Regions from separate parts of the Homo sapiens genome. Here regions 1, 2, 3, 4, 5 and 6 are each linked to region 7. Evidence: promoter capture Hi-C in 16 types of primary human blood cells and fetal thymus (Javierre and others, 2016). All regions are on one chromosome and are shown on one strand. The core of a region is centred on a gene start or on the middle of the fragment in contact, and the rest is flanking DNA. Distances in the headings are between cores, read along the strand shown.

Region 1 (3,301 bases), core at 700-3,199, 950 kb after region 7:
CCGGGCGTGGTGGCGGGTGCCTGTAGTCCCAGCTACTCAGGAGGCTGAAGCAGGAGAATGGCGTGAACCCAGGAGGCGGAGCTTGCAGTGAGCCGATATTGTACCGCTGCACTCCAACCTGGGTGACAGAGTGAGAATCCATCTCAAAAAAAAAAAAAAAAAAGAGAATACATTTTGGCTAGTTTGTTTTTTGAGTGATGAAGAATAATGAGATATAATAAAATGGCCATATTGCATTGGTAGCAGGACTGGAAAGACTATACTCATTGTTGTGAATATAGATTTGCAGTGGTCCTAATTCAGTATGTTGTATTTCTGTTTATATACTGTGACTAAGAGATTCTGGTTTTTAAAATATTTGTATCCAACACATACTTGTTTGAAAAGTAAATCTGAAGTGCTGTGTGCTTCAGAATCTTCTGATGTTGTTTAAAGTTTAGAAATATTGATAAAAGGTAAAGTGAAAAGCTTATAGTATTTAAATATATTCCAGTACAGATGGTTGGTAGCTAAGGAGTGTTTTGTTTCTTTAAATAACTATGTATAAATCTATGTATTGTGTACCAATTTTGCATGATAGACTAATACAGGACCATTTTTGGAAAGATTATAGTTAAGATGTGTTTGAGATGTACTTAGGAACATTGTAGGAAATAAATCAATTTGGCTGACAGGAAACTGGAAATGTAGAATTTTTAAAAGCTTGTTGAGAGTATCTTGAGTGCTTATTTGGGAACACATTATCACTTTATTTCAGGAAATACACATTTATAGCTTTCACAAAGGGCTATTTAAAAGTGATGCTGTATCATTAGAGAGAAAAGGTGGAGATAGGCATATGTAAGTGTTTGGACACCTGTAGAAGAAAATCCTGATGGAATTGTCATTTCCTCAGGTCTGTTTGCCTTTTCCAACAATAAAATGAGATGTATATCCTCATATCCTATATGCATATTGGAAACAAAAGCTTAGATGGCTGGCAGTGATACCATGCAACTAAAGAAAAAGTTATTTCTTTAGAGTTTATGGTTGTTTTGAGGATGTTTTTTATATTATAAAATAAATTGTACTAAATGATAATTTCTTCTTCCCATTTTAAATGTGTTAGGTTGAACAATATGTCTTTAGATACCTTGCTGTCAGTTGGCATAAACAGGCAGTATACCTGTATACTATTTTGCCTCTAAAAGATTTTCTCAGCAATGAGAGCACTTGTGTCTCTGCTGATTACCTTACAAAGTTAGACAATACTAAAAACATTTAAGAAGTCCTTCCAGATTATTTTTTTGACATGAGGTAAAGTATTTACTAGAAGTTTTTTAACTTATGAAATAACATTTTCTAATGTCCTCACCTTATGAATTGTGATATTTGTAATCTAGTTAGCTGAACAATTCTAGACCAGTCCTTGGGAGTCTGATCTGGGTTGGATGATAGATGGACTCGATTCCCCACTCCCTCTCTGTATTGCAGGGAGATTCACATGAAGGTGAAATTAAGAAATTGAATGCTATTTGTATTTTTTCCAAAAACAGGAAAAAATGAATTCCATTCATATTGGTAAATTTTTGTTTTATTGTTTTTCCAATCTAGATTAAAGAGTCTATTGTTGGGGAAATCAGACGGGAAATTGTAAGTGGACTTTTGGCAGCAGTATCTTCAAGTAAAGCGTCTAATTCTAAGCAAGATTATCATTAAACAGAAATTATAGGTAAATTTTTCTGAGTTTCTTTGTTGAGCTAAATGTAAATAGTAACTGGCATTTTATTCTTTGTTTTGTTAGTATACAGGTTTGGTTCTCTAGTTAAATTTTGAGTTTTAGAATGTATGTAATATGTTATTTTACAATGTGAAAATTTCACACAAGCCTATTTGAAGTGTAAGTCAAATCCCATAATACAAATCTCCAAGGAATTACTTATATTGGGTCATTCTACTGAAATTTCATTATAGTAATAAATCCTGGAATTGGACCTTCAAACCTGAATCTTATTTTGATTATAATGGTATTTCAGATGTATAGTTTTAAAGAACAAGATTTTGTGAATTAATCACAACTTCCTTTTTTTTTTTTTTGAGACAGAGTCTCGCTCTGTCGCCCAGGCTGGAGTGCAGTGGCGGGATCTCGGCTCACTGCAAGCTCCGCCTCCCGGGTTCACGCCATTCTCCTGCCTCAGCCTCCCAAGTAGCTGGGACTACAGGCGCCAGCCACTACGCCCGGCTAATTTTTTGTATTTTTTAGTAGAGACGGGGTTTCACCGTTTTAGCCGGGATGGTCTCGATCTCCTGACCTCGTGATCCGCCCGCCTCGGCCTCCCAAAGTGCTGGGATTACAGGCGTGAGCCACCGCGCCCGGCCGAATTAATCACAACTTCTAAGTATCTTTCCTAATTATTTTTATCTTTTAAAGAAACATATCCCATAGATTCATTTCTAATAATAATTTATTTCAAAAAACTCTTTTATATGTCTGTCTTAGTAAAACGAATTACTTTCATTTTATCTCGTAGCTCTAATTACATTAAAAAATTTTTTTGTAGAGATGGGGTCTTGCTATGTTGCCCACGCTAGTCTTAAACTCCTAGCCTCAAGCGATCCTCCTGCTTTAGCTCTAACTTCATTTTATATAATATATATTAATAATAATTCTTGGTGAATGCAAAAAGAAAGAATAAGTTGAGTAGAATAGAACTAAAAATATTCATTGAATAAGACATGAGAAACAAATGTAATTTGAAAAGTATAATATACAATTTCAGATATAGGAAATTGGAAAGTATTTTAATAAATTATGTCACAAAGCAATTAATAGGAATTATTTTTTTTAAAGCCAGGGATATAAGAATTAACTCTCAGGAAGATGTATAGAGATTACAGGATAATCATGTTTCTGTGTATATATATTTGCATAAAATTCTCATCTTCCTTTAAAGAAGCTTTTAATAACAGTATTTGAAAGAGGTTTAAAACTGACTTCTCTTTTCTTTTTTAAGGTTGGCATGGATCCTATTAGCTGTGTAATACTGGAATTATCAATGATATGCACTGGTGGAGGTGTTATTTGTGCTTTAGAAGATACTTGCTGTTGAGCTGGGCTACTGTATACAGTGTACAATGTGTATTTCTTCAACCATATATTTTAAAAAGACGTACATAGAAACTTAGGCACTTTGCTATTTCTTTTCTAAACTATCAAAAACTCTAGCAGTTTGAAAAGCCTAATATTTATTTGTATGTCAGTATTTTTCATTTGATTCCCTATTAGAATTAATTTTAAAACTTGAAGACTTCCAGACTTATC
Region 2 (3,437 bases), core at 846-3,345, 1.0 Mb before region 7:
ACGAGTATTGTATCACTGATATTGTTTAGTATTGCTAGCATGGTGAGGATAAAAAACAGACTCACTTTGCGGTTAATTTTATTTTGTTTCTAAATTCTCTATAAATTATGTACCCCCTTACTGCCTGTACCCAAGGTGGACTATTCCACTGTTTCATAACTCCAACCTTTTGGTATTCCACTATCTCTAGACACAAGATGCATGGCTTAACAAGTGGCCTGATTAATAAGATGTTGCTCATATACAATCACAACCTATCTTATTAAACTAATCAAACGGCTACATCAAATACAATTATACATCCTAATTAGGAAGCCCACAATTCACGTATCTACTGAAAGCAAAGACTATGGCCTTCTCTTACAGATGTCTACTTCTCCTTGTACCCTTTACAGCCTACGAACAGACTTCAACTGTATATAAAATTATCTTAAAGGAATCTGCTTTAAATTGCATGTATTGCTGACTCTCCTGTGTGCTTTATTTAAAAGGAAGCAAGACTTGGACTGACAAAGTTTCTAGTCTTTTACAATCAGGATTGCTTTGGACTGGACTGGAGAAAGTGAATACCTTTCAGTAATGCTGCCACTACTGCCTTGTGCATGAGCAAAACGTTTACATGATAATGAAGGTCCTACTAACCACAGAAGCCATCTCCAAATTCCTTTTCAACCTAACACTTCAAATATCACTGCCAAGCGCTAAAATATGACACATAAAGAAAAACTTATTAGTTTTGAATTTAATGTCACCAAATACCCCTTTCTGGCTCTTAAATTCGGTTTTAATTTATTTCAAATCTTCATAGCTTCTTTTAGATAAATGACATTTCTTATTTTTTTTTTTTTTTTGAGGCAGAGTCTCTCTCTGTTGCCCAGGCTGGAGTGCAGTGGTGCGATCTCGGCTCACTGCAAGCTCCGCCTCCTGGGTTCATGCCATTCTTCTGCCTCAGCCTCCCGAGTAGCTGGGACTACAGGCACCCACCACCACGCCTGGCTAATTTTTGTATTTTTAGTAGAGACAGGGTTTCACTATATTGGCCAGGCTGGTCTCGAACTTTGGGAGGCCGAGGTGGGCGGATCATGACGTTTCTACTTCAAGCTAATCCTTGAAACAAATTTAGATTTAACTTAAATAAGCTTCTCAAGCACTTTTCAAATTGCTACTAAAACACTCATGAAAAGATGTGGAAATATTCCTGTCTGGCTCACCTTGCATCTGTTTTTCTTAAATTATAACTATTAATACCTTCTATCCCAATCTTTTAACTAGTTATCTGGCAACTGAATAATCATTTCAATCTGGGACCATACATTCCCTAGTTATCAACTCATCCTATTAGAGAAAAATATCTTAAAAACTTAGCTGTACTTTCCTAAATAGCTCCTCACCATCTCAATTATTCTGAAAAGGGAAGGAGGAGTGTTTTAAGTGTGATTGTTCATATATAAATTTTGTCTGTCTGCCTTAGAGTAGCAAAAATGTATAGTCTAATAGATCATGATCTGAAGAAAATGTACAAAAAGAGATAATTGCCAGCTTCAGTTTTATAGGTAAGTACAGAGGTTGGCAAACTACACCCATGAGCCAAATGCAGCTGACCACCTGCTTTTGTAAATAATGCTTTATTGGAACACAGCCATGCTTATAATTTTCTACACAATGCCTATGACTATTTTCACATTTCAAGAGCGGAGTTAAGTAGCAACAACAGAGACAAAATGACTCACAGTGTAAAATATTTACAGTGTGGGCTTTTACAGAAAAAGTTTGCTGACTCCTGGTTTACAACAGGAAAAGTCAATTTTAGAACTAAAATGTCAGTATTACTCTTTTCTACAAAAAACAGACATTATCAATAGGAATGCATCCATGAAACTATGAAAGGAACAATAGTTTGAACATACTATAAAAAGGGTAAGCAATCTTTTCCTCAAACTTTTTAATTCATTCATGCAAAAAAAAGAAAAAAGAAGTAATGTGCTAATATAAGGGCACGTAGTGTGTGGCTCTCCAATGGAGCTATAAAGTAAAGAGGTCTCTAATTTGAGGTCTCTATCACTATAGACTAACGTAAATTCTCAAGAACCAGGGTTAATTAAACCACAGTTGACTTATTTTTCAATGACAATTTCATGGCTTTGTATACTGATTGATATAAACATGCCTGTTTTTATCTGTAATCTGTTCCTGCATCATCCTGAGCTTTGCAGGGGGAATATATGCTCCACCAGTGCGAGTAAGAAGAGGATCCAGCTCATCTTTCTTTTTCTTTGTAGCAGGTTCATCCTGAGCAGAGGAACTCTGAGTTACTGATGTTTCTGGGTTTCTCCTCCCAGGAGATGGGGATTTCCGAGACCTTTTCCGATCCGTATCTCTTTCTCTTTCTCTGCGTTTTTCTCGGTCCCTGTTTCTGTAATATAAATTTTTTGAAGAGCAGAAAAGACAATATAAAACACACTCTTAGCAATTAACTGCACACAAATGAGTGAGACCATAAGTGGGTCCCACAAATTCAGACTAGGAAAAGTGGTTTAGAATGGTGACAAAGTGTTTCACAGAGAAAATTCAACAAATTAGGTCCTGAAGGCTTGACAGGATTTAGACTGGGGGCAAGTCGGCAGGAGGAAGGGGAGACGAAGGATGACATTTTGCAACTAGTAGAAGAGGGAATAATTATTGAAAGACTGAGCAGGGGTGTTAAGGTCAGAATGAGTAGGACAATCAGGAAACAAAGGATTATGTGTCATGGTTGTTGGAAAGATGAATTAGAGTTAGACTAAAATCTTAAAACATATGTAAAGACTTTAAGGTTTTTATACTGGAGGTGATGGGGAATCATTAAAAGTTTCTCAGTAGGAGAGTGGCATGAAAAGAGTGTTTTAAGAAGACAAATTAGCCTGTGGTGTATATGACAAATTGTATAAAGGAGAAGAAACCAGAGTTAATCTCCAATAGTGGTTACTTTAGTTGTAAGACTACTATAGAATATAATATTTGAAGTTGTTTCTTGATAGAACTAATATTTTCATTAGAAATCTCAGAATATTGGAAGCTTCTGCTTATTTGAGACAATGTGGGGGGAAAAACTTTTCTAGCCACAATGTCTTCCCTACTAACGTACCTGATTATCCTTTCTTAAGCTGAGGCTTTTAAAACAATCAAGGTACAGTTCTCTGAAACCATCAAGAACTAACGGGAAAGAGCGAATTCTTGCTTTTTGCTATCTTTCCCCAGAGCAAAGTTTATCCACTGAGCTGCTTTTTACATATACTGCCTTGGAAACCCAGATCATTCTGTTTGTGTTTTGGGTAACCATGAGTTATATATAATATAGTAAATAAAAGTAAATTTCATATTATCACTGCATTACCAGGAAACTGTGGTATAGATTTTAGCTAAATCTAAGGAGTATGTTTGAGATGGTCTTTTAAATA
Region 3 (3,378 bases), core at 305-2,804, 890 kb after region 7:
GCATTTAATGTTGATATTTTACAATAAAGGCATATCAGAAAATGCATGTGAACAAAATAATTAGAAGAATTTTGGTTTGTTGATAACAATATAACTAGCATGAAGTATTCCAAAAAAGTCTCATTTTAAACTTAAACTAATACTATTCTAATTTAGTATGGCTTGCAATTCTATTCATATTGATACTTTAGGTTAGCTTGCACTAAGCTTGTTCTTCATAGAAACAATTACCAAACAGTTCCTGTAGCCTTAGAATATGCAGTAAGGCTAATTTAACCTTACTTTTGGGCATCTTTTTCATTTCAGGAGGTTTTAAACTTGAACGCAAACGTCTGGCTCTTTCTTTAGAAACATCATCTTCAGAGTAGATGTGCTACACTTCTATGATATATAAAATTGTACCAAGGATAATAAATTCTCACCAGTTGAACATAAAATGAACTAAATCTATATTTTCTAGTAGGGGCACATAATAATTTCAAATGACAAGGTTTGCCTCTTGCCTTTCTCCCCTTAAAATACTTAACTTTGGAGAAATTGGAAAAAACAGACTTTTCTTTATTATTACTAGAAATTTGAGGAAAATTTGATTTGGAGCATAAAAGAAAGAACTGAGATAGATAAATGGTACACGAATGTAAAGTTAGATTTTCAAAAAATGAAACTGCAACATTTTAACCACCAGGATGCTTTTCTTTTGGTTTTTATTTTGATGTATTTGAGTTATTTAAAAATACTGGGTTCTTTTCCTTAAAGCCACAAAGTCAACATCTTTCTAAAAAGGAATACACAACCAATTTTCAACTTTCCTTTCATGGCCTTTCTATTCTTGTGGGCCTTATCAACAGCAATTATATTCAAGTGTTTATGGGTGGCATCTATTCCAGAAACTTGTATGTGTAGTATCTTCTGAGCATCATCTTTAATTTACTCATGTTTTTCTTATAACTTTCAGATTAATTAAGCCAAACAAAATATTGATGAGCTACTAAATCCAAGGCACTGATACAGTTTGAGAGAAAATCTTATTTGACATTCTCCATTATTTGATGCTTAGCTACTCTTCTCTCAAGGAATGGTCAATTGAGACAGAGTTGAATGGAGCCAAAATAAAAACATTACATCCTATTTGTCCTAGCTGCACTCCCACTTATGCCTCAATGGATTCAGTAGCTTTATAGCTATATTCCTCTAAGAATAAACATACTTTCATAATATACAGAAAAGCCCAATAGCTCCCTTTCTTTCTTATCTAACTTCTTTACCGTTCCCCTCGCCTTCAGACTTTCCCTAATCAAAATCATACTTCCCGTCAAATCTTTTTTTTTTTTATTATAGTGCTTTTAAAGATGGTTGATGTATGTATGGGAGGAGGGAGAGTAAATGTGACCAGGAATTCCTCATTGCTTTTCCAGGCAAAAAAGTTCCCCTTTGATTCACCTCAGATCTCAAATGGTTTTTCACATTCAAAAACGTGATTTTAAAGCAATGCCTATATCTCTAAGATGATAATTGGCTTATACTGCAGTTCCTTATTATGGTCCTAATTAGTGTGCAAGTTTCTGGGTATCAAATCTTAGTACTCAATTCCTATTAAGTTAGGTAAATCATCTTGTACGAAAGGTAACACAACACTTTAATGAATGGGAAAAATTTACATGGACTGAATATTTTAAAGTATTATTTTTAATTGACACAAAATTGTACATATTTATGGGCTAAGTGTGATATTTCAATACGTGTGTACAATGTGTAATGATCAAATAAGAGTCATTAGCATATTCGTTATTTCAAACATGAATCATTTCTTTGAGTTGAAAACATTCAAAAAAGAACGAAATTCTGAATATTCTCAATTTAAGCATATTTAAATTATTTATATAAGTTTTCAATAATAAGTGCACTGTGTTAAATGTCACTAAATTTTGTAAGTTATATGTACAATTTATTTCTAAAGTTTAATTCATTAGAAATGACTTTAACAATAAATATTTATAAAATTATATATATGCATACACACATATATACAAATACACACATGTAGATGACTTGGCTTTTCTATTGAGATTTTCACATTATAAGTCTATTTTGTAAACTGGAATATTTTGGTAAAAAAACTAGCAGCAGTATCAACAGTTGTTGTGATCAAGCCGAATATGGCACTTTTTTATTGATAGCTGAGTCAAGTTGATCTGATGAGAAAACCAGGCATTCTAAAAAATTTATAGATGTTGGCAGTCACATTAAAGTATGCTGCAGTTAAAAGTAGCAACAGTTTATTTAACAGGTTGCCTGAATCAAGTGGAACTTACTGTTTTTTGCCTGCCTTTTTTTTTCCATTTACAAATGAACCGGTGCAACATAGAAATAGTTTTTAAATATAGCCAAACTGAAATGTCCCAATTTCACCAATATATTTTATTAACTGGAGTGGTAGTACTTTTTAGTGGTATTTGCCTGACACTGGGTTTGTGTATTTCTTCACACATTCTGTTAAGTGAACACATGCCAAAGCAAATATCTGAATGATATTTATACCAGATTGTTTCTATGTAGGAAAACTATGTTACACTGCTTGCATCCTTGAAGTTATACAGAAGTTTAGAAGTCAAGAATATTGAATACTAACTTTGGTTACTTAAAAAATGCTACCTCAAAGTAGAACTTTCAAAACTGAAATTTACTGATAAAAGGTAATCCACAAACCAGAATACAAATGAAACACAATTTTTCAAATTGTTAATCAATCCTAGATTCTTATTTTTATCAAACATTATAAAACATTTTTTTCTAAGGAAACATAAGAAAAAATATTGACCTAATACAACTACAGAACATTGAAATAGCATAGGCATGAATCTTTTTTTCCTTTTCATTTGTCTGGACTGATGCTTGCATTATGAAGCTTCTCAGCCTCTATGTATGACCTCTGACAGCCAAGTTCATTGTTTTTAAGGTTGAGGAAAGAGATTTGGTCAAGCCCGCACAATGGAATTCACGGATTTGAACAATGAATAAACAAACTTTGGTAGAGAAATTTCTAGTATGTTTCAGAATGCAAGGGCAGATGGAGACTATAGGAGAGCGTTAAGAATAAACCAGTTAGTTAGTAGTCAGAACAACAGAATGCTAAACTCATACTGAGAGTAGAACACCACATGGACTGGAAAACTCAGAAAGAGCTTTCTGGAAAAGGTAAATGTTGAAAGACTCAAGCAAGAGAGGAAGATAAAGGAGATGACATTCTTGGTGGACAGAAACAACAGAGATGAAGCGGGGGTGGGGGCAGGGGTCATGTTCACTAAAGAGAAAGAAGGTAGATTCAAATGGAGAAAAGTGTTTCTGTAAGTGGATAGGCTTCAATTGTAAATGGGGTCA
Region 4 (3,637 bases), core at 451-2,950, 910 kb after region 7:
TGGTGGAATGGTGGAGTCAAAAAGTTCTGGCTTAGCTAGATTTTGAAAGTCATGAAGGTAGTGGACAGAAAGAACAGGAATGAATTAATTAGCAAAGACAGAGTAGGCAACAGCACTTAGATATGATAGAATTGAAGCTGGGAGCAGCAGAGGAACAGGGTGGATACGTAAGAACCCTGGATAAAACTTTGAAGGCAGCATATTTTGTGGCACTTGACCAGCCCTTTCAATGCTTCTTCTTAGGTACCTTCTTTATTCATTCTCTTTTTCATCTTCCACACAGGCAGCGAGACTCTGACCTATTTTGGAGAGCCATTAAACTGTTAGCTGCATCCTACTACAGGACCCTTGAAGGCTGAGAAAGTCTTATAGGTTCAAAGAAAAGATTTTCTAGTAGTGAAATTTCAAGCCATAGAGATATTAATATCACTGTTCTAACTCCCCTGACATTTGGCAGTACATAGATGAGACTCAGGAGAATATTATGATGGTTCTGGAAAGCTAGTCTGGATTTTGGATTTGATCTTGGGGATATTAGTAAACCATTAGAAGATGTCTTGGAATTGTAAATCTAGAGCAATGCGCTAGAAAGGAGATAGGAAAGAATGAAGGCAGGAAAATCAGTGTGCTATTTTAGTAGTCTATGACTTATGTGTAAATGCCTGGACAAAAACTAGGCACTATTTCATCTCCAGAGCATTCTTCATTCCAAATTCTCCAAAAGTTATGGTTTCCTGTAGCTATCAATGACAATGCACTTAATTACCTTGTAATTCGAATGCTTCCATTAGGAATTTTACTATGCTCTGGATTTTAATTTCAAATGAAAAATAATTCCTTCCTTAAAATATTTTGTCTACGCAAAATATTCTTTTCAATCACGTTAAGATTTTAAAAAGTGTTCTAACTTGTTCTTCAGAGCATAGCCAAGTACAATAAAATATTGGAAGCCTTACTTATATGTATAGTTCAGATGTAACATTTAGGGGAACAATGCTGCTTGATAGGTCTGTCACATTGTGTCTGGTTTTGGATAGAATTTGAGTATTTTTGCTAATGAGAATTTAAACATAACAAAACGGAATGCCAAAGCTGGCTTTAAAAAGTTTTGAACCCTGACATCATTTGTTTCTTGTATCATGCTGTCTCACCAAAATCCAAGCAACTATCTCCACATTGTCCCAATTGTTTCCTCTATTCTCCCTCACCAAAGTCCAACTTCAATGTGAAATTTCCAGATTAAATATCCTTTCACAATTCATTTTCATTCATAACATAAACACGATAAATAACTTTAAGTATGAAAGTAGCACTCCAGGAAGCTTAGTCTTTTGCAGTTTTTACATTTTGGCAACACCAATCAAGCACCTCTTTCCGTCCTTACCCCAATTCCTTGGACACTAAAGAGTCTATATTCAGGCGACTCTTTCAAGTGTATGTTTCAGGGTGCCCAAGCAGACACTTGTTTTCTCGCGGGGGATGTTTTGTGAGACTTGGCCTCCCCACTTACGTTCTATTTTTAGGTGAGGGAGGAGGAGGAGGAGAGGAGGAAAGATTATTAACAAACTAATCTTGCCCATTCCGCGGGCAGTAGTCGGGGGCTGGCCTGCTCCGCGTCGCGCCGGGCGCGCCCCGCCCTACCGCGCCCCGCGCGGCCCCGGCCGGAAGGGGGCGTGGGCCGCCGCCGAGGGAAGGCGCGCAGACGCGCAGCGGCCGGCCTGCTCCGGGCGCGTCAGGCAGGGGGTGGGGAGCAGGGGCCGGGCGGGCGCTCGGCTCCCAGCCGCGCTCCCTCGGGCCACTAGCGCTCCCGCGCGCGCCCGGCCGCCTTCATGTGAAGCGCCGGCCCTCCGCCCCTTCCCTCCCCTTCCTTCCCTCCCTCCCTCCCTGTCCCCTCCTCCTCCTCCTCCTCCTCCGGCGCCCGCTTCAGCTCCCCGGGGCCCCCTGCCCGGCCGGGCGCTGACAGCAAGGGCGGGGGTCCCTGCCGCCGCCTTGTCTCGCGCAGGGTCCGGCTGGGGTAGCGGAGCCCCCAGTGCGGCCATGGACCGGCCCCTGTCGTCGTCGGCGGAGGCGGAGGAGGAACTGGAGTGGCAAGTGGCGAGTCGCAGGAGGAAGGCCTGGGCCAAGTGCCGCAGCTCCTGGCAAGCGTCGGAGACGGAGGATCTGTCCACAGAAGCGACGACGCAGGACGAGGAGGAGGACGAGGAGGAGGACCTCCCCGGCGCGCAGCTGCCGGCAGCGGGGGGAAGAGGTCGGTGCTCCCGGCCGGGCTCCGGGGGGAGGCTGGTGGGCTGGGGAGAGTCTCGTGCGCCCTGGGCGCCTGCCACGAGTTCTGGGAGAGCCTCGGGCACGGTAGGCCGAGGGGAGAGGGGACACTTCCGACCTTCAAACGCGCGCGCTGAACGAGGCGCCCCCAGCGTCAACACAGACAACTGGGTGCCATCCGATTTCCCTGCCAAGGGACACTGAGACGTGTCGCTTAGGCTGCATTTGCCGTGGTAGATTTTCCTACTTGGGAGGGTCCAGGGTGACTCCGCCGTCGTAGTGCTCCTGGGTGGTAACGTGCTGTCCCCTCTCTCTACCCCCAGGAAACGTGCCCAACGAGAAGATCGCGATATGGCTCAAGGACTGCCGGTGAGTGCTCCCTGGTCCGCCCGCGTCCCGGGGGAGATCCGTGCGGACGGGACGCCGGAGCAGAGCCACTCGGGCCGCGTCCCTGTGGGTCCCGCGACCGTTGTAAGCTACAAACCGGAAAGTGAGCCGGCGGATAGCTTCCTCCTCTAAGCGATTAGAAATGGAAGTGCTGTGACCGCTGATTATTTGGTGACCGTGTTGACTTTACAGTTAGGACTTGAGCTACTCACGCATCGTGTTAGCATCAGAGATCAGAAATCCAGAACAGATAATCATGCCATATTTGTTCTGTTTTTATTTGAAAGAATTCTCACATCTCGAACAGGATATTTTGTTTTGCTTTAGTTTTGGCATCTGTACAACTGGCACGGAATCATTTTCCTTTCAAATGTGTTTTAGACGAGTTTAATTTACCTAACTACACTAAATGGGCTTTAATTTTGTTTCTGTTTGGGGAGCTATTAAAACTAGCTAACTTTGTACTTATAGTTTACTTCTTGAACATGGAATTGTCAGATGGCACTGGAATTCTCAGGGAATAGAACTTTTAAAAGCATTCAGACTGCATAAATCTGTTTAATTACATGCTTTGGCAACTGGTACAAAAATGTTTGATAAAATACAGAGGAGATGAATCATGTTGCACGTAAATCTGACTACAGCAAAATGTACTTGTTTCTTATTCCACTTTGCTAGTTGTAAAATCAGGAATGTAGCCTTTAAACTTTTGTTGGTGTTTGCTTTCGAGCATATTTTTGCTTTCTCAATTTAGATTTTCTTAATATTTTGTTCAAATATTAGAGTTAGGGTAGTTTGTTTTGTTTTGTTGTGGAAAGTGATTCATATGCCAGTTTGCCTCCTCTAAAGACAGACAAGATATTGGCTACCATGATATTAATGCCTTGTTTTGATGAATCGACTGGAACCTTATTGAACACTCTTTATTACAGAACTCGTACCCTTTATTGGAAGTGTCATAGACCCTTCTGAAATATGATGACATATA
Region 5 (3,391 bases), core at 306-2,805, 960 kb before region 7:
TCTCCCCCCTGGATATTACAAACCATATCGTGGTCGGGGGTATACACCCTACTTCCCCATGATTTGGGGAGTAATATCACACTCCCACCCCGCCCCCCGGATATTACAAACCACTTCGCGGGGTCGGTGTATAATACCCCCCGCCGCGATGTGGGGAGTGATATCACCCTCTCTCACCCTGGATATTACGAACAACCTCGCGGGGGGTGGTGGTCCATAATATCCGGGTGGGGGGAGAGGCTGATATCACTCCCCACATCGCGAGGGAGGGGATGTACACCGCCCGCCGCCACGCGAGGTGGTTCGTAATATCCAGTGGGGGAGAGGGTGATATCACACCCACATCGCGGGGGGTGGGAGGGCATGTACACAGGATATTATGTTGGTTGAGGTTACTGACTCTGAGGCAAGGCGGCCAGAATATGTACCTTGGCTCTGCCACTTACTGCCCCGTTTGATCTTGATCAAGTTATTTAGCATTTTTTTTTTTACCTGTTTTCCTACCTTTAAAGCAGGAATAATAATATTCCCTAGATTATATGAGATAATCTGTGAAAATGTTTAGAACATGTTAGTTCAAAAATGTCTGGCTCAATAAATATGAGCATACTATTTTTAGCTGGTTGTTGCTCACTTTTCTCCACAAAAAGACTGTTTCTGACTTTTCTAGTCATCACCTATTATCATCTTGTAAACACTTCATCTGGTTGCTGTTTGCTTTCTACTTTAGTTATGCCTCAAAGATTGGCATGACTCCTAACCTTTAATTGCCTATAGCACAGCTGTAGCATTTTATAAAAACTTTACTCAAGCTTATTATGAGATGATATATGCATAGATAAGCATATATGAGACTATAATTCAAAAAAGGAAATCCTAAAACAAAGAGGCACCGTTTCTCCTAGAGTTCAATAGTCATGCCCTTCCAAAGAGGTTCCCTAGCAGCCCATCCCTGTTCTTTGTTTCACTTTGCTGCCGTGATCCAGGGTTTGCTTTATTTTCCCTCAGGAGCCGGGCCCCCACTCCAACCCCAAACCAGCCAATATCATCATAATTTCTACATAGATAACACTTGTTCATAAAGAAAACAGAACAGATTTCTTTCTCCTTGTCTCAAGCATTTCCATAGCCAGTTTCTCCTTTGCTTTGCATAACCTGAAAGCCCAGGAAATGCATTTTTACTAAAGAGCTGTCTTTCCTCAAATATAAATATCCTGCCACACGTAGAACAAGAAACACAAATTTCAATCTGATTTCACCTATACTGAACTACATCCAACAAACCCTCATTATAGTTTGTATCACAATTCCTGGATTAGTATTTCAGGGTAGAAAAAGGTGAGGAAGATAATGAATCAAATTCATATCCCAGTAACTTTTATTCTGCATTGGGTCCAAGTCTCCTTTTCTAAGGAGACAACTGAGTGTCTGATCTCTGAAGACAAGTATCAGTTACCATGTCTTTTCATAATAGCCTGTTCTCGTGAGTAAACACCTTCACTTTCTCTAACACATTGAATAAACTAGGAAAACCACTCCTTAATTCTACCAGCTCATGAGCTCTAGGTGAGTTGGAATTTATTGTTTTGCTGGAAGTAAAGCATTTCTTGAACATTTGCCTGGATTCTCAATGTATTTTGTTAGGAATGGTACTCCCATTCCAGAAAAAGGAGCATGATGCTGGGGTTACATTTGAGAGCTTCCATTCAGGATGATTGATTTGTGGTGCAGAATCAGCTGTTAGAGTCTTATAATACCAATGTAGTAAACCAAAGGCCTTCCAGCATTGCAGCAAAGGCTGTTGGTGGAATGGCACTGGGGAAGTGAAAGTGGCCCCGCAGAGATGGAATGACATTTGAACTAACCTCTTCAGTCTGATGGGATGGAATCCCTGGATCCTATCCCATCTCAGTGTAAGAGGGAAGCCGCCTCCTTTCTCCTTTGCAAAGCAAAGGAGAAACTGTGTATGGAAATGCTTGAGACAAGGAGAAAGAAATCTGTTCTGTTTTCTTTATGAACGAGTGTTATCTCTGTAGAAATTATGATAATATTGGCTGGTTTGGGTTTGGGGTGGGGGCCTGGCCCCTGAGGGAAAATAAAGCAAGCCCTGGATCATGGCAGCAAAGTGAAAGAACAGGGATGGCCTGCTAGGGAACCTCTTTGGAAGGGCATGACTACTGAACTCTAGGAGTTCTATAACTTTTGTTCTGAGCAAGCAGCATTTGAGCCTGTGGAATCCAGGCATTCTAGAAAAAGATGAGAAGAATAGTATCACTGAAGAGTAAGGAAATTACAGGAAGAAGCTTCTGAAGCTGAGTAAAAAGAACAGTTTTTACAGATTAACATTGTCAAATTTAACAAATAAAAGTATAGGACACTCACATTTTAATTTGGGGTAAACGACAAAAATGTTTAGTATGTCTCACACAATATTTGGAACAACTTTATACTAAAAAAATTTGTCTGAAATCCCAATTTAACTGGGCATTCTGTATTTAATTTGGCAATCCTACTACAATGAAAACCTGGAAATCTACCCCAAAACTAGATTTACTCATAATAATTTAAGGGTTCTTAGAGAGGATGCCTTCCATGCAGCTAGAAGCTGAAGGATATGAGGGAACAATTACATCAATTTCAATACCTCAGTCCTTGTTTGCCTACAGTATGGGGATGGTGAGATTGAAGAAGCGGACAGTTGGAGTATAGTACGTCTGTATGCAAATGATGAAAGAGGGAGAGTGTGGAAAGACAGATTTTACACTTTTTTAAGTGATTAAGGTTGCAATGACCAGATTTCTATAATTACTGTATTCTTCCTGCCCTCCGACAACCACGTTTGATCTGTGTGACACAGTGGTTGGGACTATAGTTTGAGACAGAGGTAGGCACTAGTCCCAAGCTGATACAACTACATTCTTCTGTTAACTTGGAATTGGGCAGAAAAGAAGACTAGATAGACTTGGAGGAACATGCAAACTTGGGGACAGTGAGATAGTCATTCTCTACAGGTTATATAGACAATATAAAAAGCCAATCTCTAGAGGAAGCAGAATAAAATAGACATGCAAAAAGGAATAAAGACAAAATATTACATGCTGCCAGGGGGGATGTGGGAACCAGAGACAGTCAGATAAAGGTTTAGTTCTTTATGATTTTCTAGATTTAATTTTATATGTCCTTCCATGTTTCCTTATAATAAGTTCCCTTTTTGTATTAGGTAGGGCATAGGCTAAAAAATTGTAACAAAGAGATCTAAAGAGCATAGTGGTTTACTTCTCTTTCAATTTAAAGCTTGACTGGTCCAGGCTGGTGGGGTGTCTGTGCTCCAGGAGGTCATGCAGGATTTCGGGTTCTTCTGCCTATTGTTCTCTTCCACCAGGGCTCATGA
Region 6 (3,444 bases), core at 475-2,974, 930 kb after region 7:
TGTATGTGTAAAACTCGATAGTATTTGTTTAAGATAAACATTTGCAAGTAATTTATAGAATCATAAACTAGTACGGAAAGAGATACTTTATTCATTTTCTAGTTTCTTCCCTTTACAAATGAGGAAGCATCCCCTCCCTCATTTGATATTGTTTTATAGCAGTGGTTCTTCACCATCTTTCTGAGGGCTATAATATTCCTTTTGATATCAGTGCTTCACAGGGGGAAGGAGCACAGCGGGTGTCAGTGGAGGATGGCAGAGGAGGATCTCCTGTTGTACATTCTTACTACTTTACTGTTTGAAAGTACTTTGACTTACAGTTACATTTGATCACCCCAAGGACCTATGAGGTAGAAATTTTAATTTTAATTTTGCTGTTAATTTTAATTTTGAGGCTGAGCATGGTGATTCACACCTGTAATCCCAGCACTGTGTGGAGGCTGAGGCAGGAGGATCACTTGAGCCCAGAAGTTAGAGACCAGCCTGGACAACATAGCATGACTTGTCTCTACAAATAGTTTTAAAATTAGCCGTGCATGGTGGTGCATGTCTGTAGTCCCACTTCTCCAAAGGCTGAGGTGGGAGAATCACTTGAGCCCAGGCAGTTGAGGCTGCAGTGAGCCATGATTCCACCACTGCACTCCAGCCTGGGCAACAGAACGAGACCTTGTTTCAAAAAAATGAAATAAAAAAAAAAAATACGGATATTTATCGCAGATAATTGTCAGAGGCCGTTAGCCAGTAAGTGGCATGAATAAGACTTGAATTCACGTTACTTGTGACTATACTATACAACTTGGTGAAGGTCAGATATGTTGGTATGGTCAGGCATTGTACAAGAACTAATCATCTGATGCACAGCACCATGCTACTACTTTGGAAAAAGAATGATTTCCTCTGACATTTTTTTGAGCTGTCATTAAAAATTAGACAGAATTGTAATTTCTAAAGCTCTAGTTTTGATTTTCTTTGAAAACCATTTTGATATACAATGTTTATTCAATGATGACAGCTATACAGTCTCTTTTTAAACTTTAGAGGAAGGGTTATTTGAGTTAGAACATCCATGTATTGCTGTCCTGTGCAATACAATACAGTAGTATTGTGCCTAGAAGATCCCTCTTAGTCAAGGTAAACATGACAGCTGTTAAGAAACCAAAGTGGTTCACTGAAACAAAAAGTACATTTTTTAAACAAGAGAAAGAAACCAAAGTGAGTGCCTGTCATTTTAGCAGAACATTGATTTAGAAAGATACAGTCATTGTTTCATGAAAACTTTTTTAAATGAAGTAACCCAAATGTGTGGGTTATTCTAAAGCTGTTTTTCATCTTTGAATCCCAAAACATTGAGACCATGCAATTTTATCACTTTGGTTTAGTGGTTTTTTTTTTTTTTTATATTATGAAACAGTTTTGTTATGAAAAGTTTCAAACTTACTTGAAGATTAGAGAAAATAATATCATGAACACCCATTACTCATCATTCTAATTCAGTTTTATTTGGCTATTCTTGTTAATTATGAAAGGCTGCTTATAGCAAATGACCAGAATTCTACGGAGCATTTGAAACCACTGAATAGGGAAAATCTTGTCACATAAATCTAAATTCTGTGTTCTATATTTGCTTCATAATTCTCTGTGGTGTACCCCATCTCAAATTTGACTGCCGCCTTTTGCACAATTGTGACCAATAATAAAATAAGAAATTCACCCATTATCACTAGCATGTATGTTTCTCTCTTCAGCAAGTGGGTACTCTGATTTTGCTGAGTAAACAAGAAGAATCCCAACTTTAGTTTTATTAGTAAAATGTGACTGTCTCAGCTTTTTGAAGTGCTCCTTTCTTGCACTTAATTATGGAGTTTGTAGTAAAAGGAGAGAGTAGATTTGTTTTTGCCATTGAGTAGCATCTTGAAGAATAGAATGCTGATGATATGTGTTTATTAAAGTCATGTTATTTTGTGATTAATTTCATAAGTCTAAGGAAATAGAATATGTGATAATTCTGTGTTTAAAGGTGAGCAGCCGGGTGCGGCGGCTCACACCTTTAATCCCAGCACTTGGAAGGCTGTGGCAGGTGGATCGCTTGAGCCCAGGAGTTTGAGACCCCAGCCTGGGCAACATGGTGAAACCCCATCTCTACCAAAAATACAAAAATTACCCAGTCTCATAACCCAGTCTCAAAATAAATAAATAGATTAAATTTAAAAAAAACATGACAGTGAGAGATTTGGTATATTAATGCTGTGCCTGAGCCAGTATTCCTAGAACATAAATGCAGAGGCATTGGAATTCTGCTATAATTTTTTGATCTGGTTGATATTTACTTTACAGAAAGATACTTGAAGTAGACCGAGCCTGAATAGAAGCTAATAATAGACATTTTATTGAATATAAAAAGAAAACGCACATTGTTCCCTTGCATACAAGACAATGGTTTTCCTGTTGAACATGTATCTGCTGCTTTGAAGAATTATTCTAATTTTAACAAGATAACAAAGAATAGTAGAATCTATTTTTATATATCTGATCTACAGGTGATGGTTTTGCATGAGTAGTGTGCTTTCAGTTTTCAAAAGATTCATAAACTTCGGTTCCTGGAGCTATGTAGAGCAAAGAAATCACAAATTAGAGCAAATTTTAAATTGGGTAATACTATCTTTAACCTTTGGGCTTTTAAAAATGTTGGTTATTTCACTCTTATTCCTTTGGAATATTTCTTATTCTTGAATAGCTTCATAACTAAAAACTACCAGAGTTTTCCCTAAAATGTGTTAACTATTAGCGCTTTGATTTTTTTTTTCAAGGTTGAAAACCCATATGTTCAGCTAGGTACCACACTTTACTAGGATGTTCTTTATGATTTAAGAACCAATCATTACAGAGTAAAGTGACAGAAATTACCGTGCATCTTGCCCATTCCCTATGTATTTAATGTTGACATAGAGTTAATTATGTTAGAATAGACAGAGTGTTTGTGGGGTGGAGGTGGTGATTTAGGAATCTGAAAATTTCTAAATTATGTACTTGTGCAGATAGAAAAATAAACACAAAAAGACAACTAAGTTTGATATGTTCTTTGAACAGTGTTTTCAGGGAAGATTTATGGTTAATATCTTTCATTATTTTAGTTCTGTAATGAAACCTGCTTTTCCACATACAGCTCCCAAGTTATGTCTTGAAAGAATTTCAGGACAAAGCAGTCTTAAACCTGAGCAATTTTTGATACCTGAAAGTTTGGGGGAGTTTAGAAATTCTGCAGTGGTAGCACTGTGTTCTATTTTCAAAGATGCGAGACTTATAATTACCTCAACTGTGTGTTGGTCATAATGTGCTGTAGTGAGTGTATTAGTGTTTCTCCTGGGATTTACCCTACTTTGAAGTTTAACGTATAGAGAACTTTTCCTTATGGATCTGTTTTTCATATAATAGCAACATTTTTTT
Region 7 (3,280 bases), core at 583-3,082:
AGAAGATGTTACCAAACAACTAAATATCTTTCTCCCCTAAGCTCCTTACCCCACTAAATCCTATCAGCAATTGGCCTTTGGGCCTTCAGGCTATTTCTGTTCTTAAATTTCCTAAAAGAACCCATGTTTAACGTACAGCTTTCCTTTTCTGTCTCCCCATTCCAAACAAAGCAAAGCTTCAACTCCAAATTGGCTGGCTTTTGCTGTAACATCACATCGTGTAAAGCTGGGGGAAAATTCTGCTTTTATTTTCACTAACAAGCTTTTCCCACAAGCACTCTTTGACCCAGCCAAATCAAAATGCTTGTCCACACACAGACCATGATCTTTTTTGAGGCATGAGATATTCTATCTGTTCATTCTGAGTGGAATATCCTTACTACTTATGAACCTAGCGAACTTTAATGAACTGTTCCCCTTCTGGACTAGGAGCTCTTAGCACAGAGTAGAGACCTGGCTTTAGTCACACAGCAATTGAATGAGTGTATGTCCAGCACCTAGCAACATATAGCCCTCAATAAAGTTAACTGAATGACTGTGTCTTTGGAAAATTATGGAAATGTAACTTACTCTTTAGAGTTGCTATCAAGCCTTTACCAAAAGTTTTCTATTAGGAGAAATAGTAAGCAAATACGTTGGCTCACTCAGTCTTTTCTTCTTTCCCTTAACTCTATACATCTTTTGACTGCCATTCTCACTCCCTTTGTGAACTGCACATTCTCACAGCACCCCTGCCCCTGGACACTTGTGGGAGAGGAATCCACAAATTCCTTTGAGGCTCCATCACCGGAACAAGTTCTCAGTAGCTGGAGAAGGCCTGGGTGGCAAACAGGAAGTTTTTGTATTCTGGCTACTTTGTGCCGTGGGGTAAAAACCGCAGAGTCCACCTGGAGACTGCAAAAAGAATGGTAGAACAAACAAAACTGTCACTATCTCCACCTAAAGCTTTTCTGGGTGGACATTCTGACTCAACATCACTCAGAACTTTTCTTTCCAGAACTGGCTCCTCATGTGCAAGACAGAAGAGTCCCGCAGAAAAGTGTCATGTTTTAGCTCTCATCGCCACCCCCCAACCCCAAACTCTTCTCCTTCACTTTTAAGAATGTTGAGCGGGACATTTTAAACACTGTTTTGGATTTTTAAGGTTTCAAATAATCCGAAGGACACTTCCCTTTGGCAGCGACAGTTGCAAGCTATGAGCCAAAAAGAAATAGAGGTTGTTCCCCTAATCTCCAAATACATTCTACCCTCTTCAATTCCCAGGACCCCAACTTGTCCCTTCCTCCAGCTTACGCGAGGGGCAAGTGGCAGCTCTTCTCCGCCTGCGTGCCTGGCCTCGTCAACAACACCCATTAGTCTCCCGTCTCCCGGGGCGGCGGGGGACTCCCAACCACGCGCCCAGGGCCCTTGCCCAGGTACTGGGGCCCCGGGAGCCACGACGGCCCCCGCGCAGGCGGATGGGATGGAACCAGCCCTGGGGACGCGGGTAGCCCAATGGGCAGCCTCGCCCCGGAGGCGGGCCCAGGCCGGAAGCCACCCCGCGGCACAGCGGCCCCGCGATACGGTGCCCGCGCCCCCGCCTTCTCTGGCACAGGCTCCGCGGCCAAGGGCGGCAGGGGCCAGCCCGCCGGGTCCCCGCCGCGCTCTTTGTCCTGGCCGCGCGCGGGCGGACGCGTGCACCCCCAGGGTGAGGGGAGGTGTGGAGAGCGCGCACGGGAGCGCGCGGGAACAGCTCGCGCCCGCCGGGCGTCGGCGGCGCGCGCCCCTCCGCCAGGCAAGCAGCGAGCACGCGCGTCGCCGCCGCGCCCGCCCCTCCCCCCCGCGCTCGCCTCGGAACTTGCTGACTGCGCGGCCGGGAGGAGCCGAGCCGGGCGGCGGCGGCGGGAGGCTACAGCGCGCGGGGGTCTCCCGCGTCCCCTCCGCCTCGCCGGGAGCTCGCGCCCTCGCCCAGCCGAGCTCCCACCCCCGCTTTTTTCCGAAGGCGCTGGGCGGCGCCACCCTCCGGCCGGAGCCCGGCACTGCACAACCCCCTCCGACTTTCAATGTTCCACACTCCCCGGCCAGAGCCTCCTCGGCTTCTTTTTTTCCCTCCCCCCCCTTCCCCCCCCCACAGCTGCCTCCATTTCCTTAAGGAAGGGTTTTTTTCTCTCTCCCTCCCCCACACCGTAGCGGCGCGCGAGCGGGCCGGGCGGGCGGCCGAGGTAAGGCGGCGGGGCCGGGGGGCCGCGTGGGGGGCGGCCGGGGCGGCGGCGGCGGTGGGGGAGGGGGCGGGGGCGGGCAGCTTTGTTCGCGCCGGGCGCCCGCGTCGCCGGTGTCCGCGAGCCGCGGCGGGGCCGGCTGGGCTGCTCGCATCACTTGGCGCCCGGCGCGGCGAGCGCTACCCGCGGCCCCCGCGCGGCCCTCCCCACAAAGGGCCGCGGAGCTGCGTGGCCGCCGCCGCCGGCCGTGGCTCGCCTCCGCGGGCGCGGAAATTTGTTGCACTTCTTGGGGCTTTGTTTATTTGTTTGTTTTTTCTCTGGGTTTCTTATTTTTTTCGTTATTTTGGACAAAATGTCGGTCCGTGATATAAAAATTGAGCGAGGAACCTTGGTGGCATTGGGAGCTTTGCAGAAGGTGCAGTTTGAATTCTGCTTTTCCCAGGGTGGCAGCTCGGTCTTGGCCGGATGAATCTTCGCTGCTGGCCGTGGAAACAGCTAGAGCAGCTCGTTAGTTGATTTTTAAATTTCCAAGTGTTGTGTTTAAAGGCTTTACGTGCACTGAGGAGGAATCGCCACCTTAAATAAGCATATGGGCGATTAACAGGGTGTGTTTTCCTCTCGGAAAGGGAATTTGGTAGCTTTGACCAATGTCAGTGTGTAAATATTTAGACGTTATTAGTGACTTTTAAACATTTTTCAGCGAGATCTGTTATTTACAGTGTGTCATATGTTATTAATGCTTGTTGCCTAAGTTCCTTGGCAAATCTGTTTCATGCCTTCTGAGAAAGTAGACAATTGATAGATTGTCCAAGAGACGGAAAAAAATGTGAGTGGGTTTTCTAACTTGAGTTCGGCAAATCCCTTAACGCTGGCGTTGTGTGACACATCACCTCCCTTGTACGTACCCCTGTTGTACGATGAAATAAGTGTGAACACTTTTGAAGCTTTTTCATTACAAGACGATTTTAGATGACTAGAAGAAAATGCTGTTGGTTTATTTCCTAGATTTAACATTTTCTCCTCCTCCTCCCCTGTTCTCTTTAAAAGTTTTCCAAGAGATAACTTCACCAAGATGTCCAGTG

What was found. Contacts are between HindIII fragments. The CHiCAGO score rates a contact against its expected background, and 5 or more counts as called.
Region 1: a fragment that was not itself captured here is called in contact with the fragment with the promoter of UBE2E3 in region 7 in 5 of 17 cell types (monocytes, fetal thymus, total CD4 T cells and 2 more); the score reaches 8.5 in monocytes.
Region 2: a fragment that was not itself captured here is called in contact with the fragment with the promoter of UBE2E3 in region 7 in 1 of 17 cell types (monocytes); the score reaches 5.1 in monocytes.
Region 3: a contact is called between a fragment that was not itself captured here and the fragment with the promoter of UBE2E3 in region 7, in 1 of 17 cell types (total B cells). The highest score is 6.5, in total B cells.
Region 4: a contact is called between the fragment with the promoter of ITPRID2 here and the fragment with the promoter of UBE2E3 in region 7, in 12 of 17 cell types (fetal thymus, non-activated CD4 T cells, activated CD4 T cells and 9 more). The highest score is 19.6, in fetal thymus.
Region 5: a fragment that was not itself captured here is called in contact with the fragment with the promoter of UBE2E3 in region 7 in 1 of 17 cell types (total B cells); the score reaches 6.4 in total B cells.
Region 6: a contact is called between a fragment that was not itself captured here and the fragment with the promoter of UBE2E3 in region 7, in 2 of 17 cell types (fetal thymus and monocytes). The highest score is 6.8, in fetal thymus.

Annotation. Positions count from the first base shown.
Region 1 is chr2:181,926,568-181,929,868 of GRCh38, forward strand. ITPRID2 (ITPR interacting domain containing 2) reads left to right here. Exons shown (of 18, transcript NM_001130445.3): 17 at 1,594-1,711; 18 at 2,994-3,301. The coding sequence ends at 1,698. Among named protein-coding and RNA genes, the nearest start is that of ITPRID2, 36 kb to the left of the region's middle. The HindIII fragment of the contact is 1,969 bases long and covers 966-2,934 here.
Region 2 is chr2:179,979,585-179,983,021 of GRCh38, forward strand. CWC22 (CWC22 spliceosome associated protein) reads right to left here. Exons shown (of 20, transcript NM_020943.3): 5 at 2,168-2,413. Among named protein-coding and RNA genes, the nearest start is that of CWC22, 26 kb to the right of the region's middle. The HindIII fragment of the contact is 1,916 bases long and covers 1,138-3,053 here.
Region 3 is chr2:181,869,863-181,873,240 of GRCh38, forward strand. No RefSeq gene overlaps it. Among named protein-coding and RNA genes, the nearest start is that of ITPRID2, 20 kb to the right of the region's middle. The HindIII fragment of the contact is 2,698 bases long and covers 206-2,903 here.
Region 4 is chr2:181,890,030-181,893,666 of GRCh38, forward strand. ITPRID2 (ITPR interacting domain containing 2) reads left to right here and starts at 1,701. Exons shown (of 18, transcript NM_001130445.3): 1 at 1,701-2,248; 2 at 2,586-2,631. The coding sequence starts at 2,038. RefSeq lists silencers at 1,578-1,907, 2,198-2,337. The HindIII fragment of the contact is 2,528 bases long and covers 1,321-3,637 here.
Region 5 is chr2:180,021,757-180,025,147 of GRCh38, forward strand. No RefSeq gene overlaps it. Among named protein-coding and RNA genes, the nearest start is that of CWC22, 16 kb to the left of the region's middle. The HindIII fragment of the contact is 1,491 bases long and covers 811-2,301 here.
Region 6 is chr2:181,906,065-181,909,508 of GRCh38, forward strand. All of the region lies in intron 8 of ITPRID2 (ITPR interacting domain containing 2), which reads left to right. Among named protein-coding and RNA genes, the nearest start is that of ITPRID2, 16 kb to the left of the region's middle. The HindIII fragment of the contact is 9,837 bases long and covers 1-3,444 here.
Region 7 is chr2:180,978,773-180,982,052 of GRCh38, forward strand. It overlaps UBE2E3 (ubiquitin conjugating enzyme E2 E3), which reads left to right and starts at 1,833. Exons shown (of 6, transcript NM_006357.4): 1 at 1,833-2,201; 2 at 3,246-3,280. The coding sequence starts at 3,271. It overlaps UBE2E3-DT (UBE2E3 divergent transcript), which reads right to left and starts at 2,240. Exons shown (of 2, transcript NR_187176.1): 1 at 1,294-2,240; 2 at 1-894. RefSeq lists a silencer at 1,251-2,110. The HindIII fragment of the contact is 2,197 bases long and covers 944-3,140 here.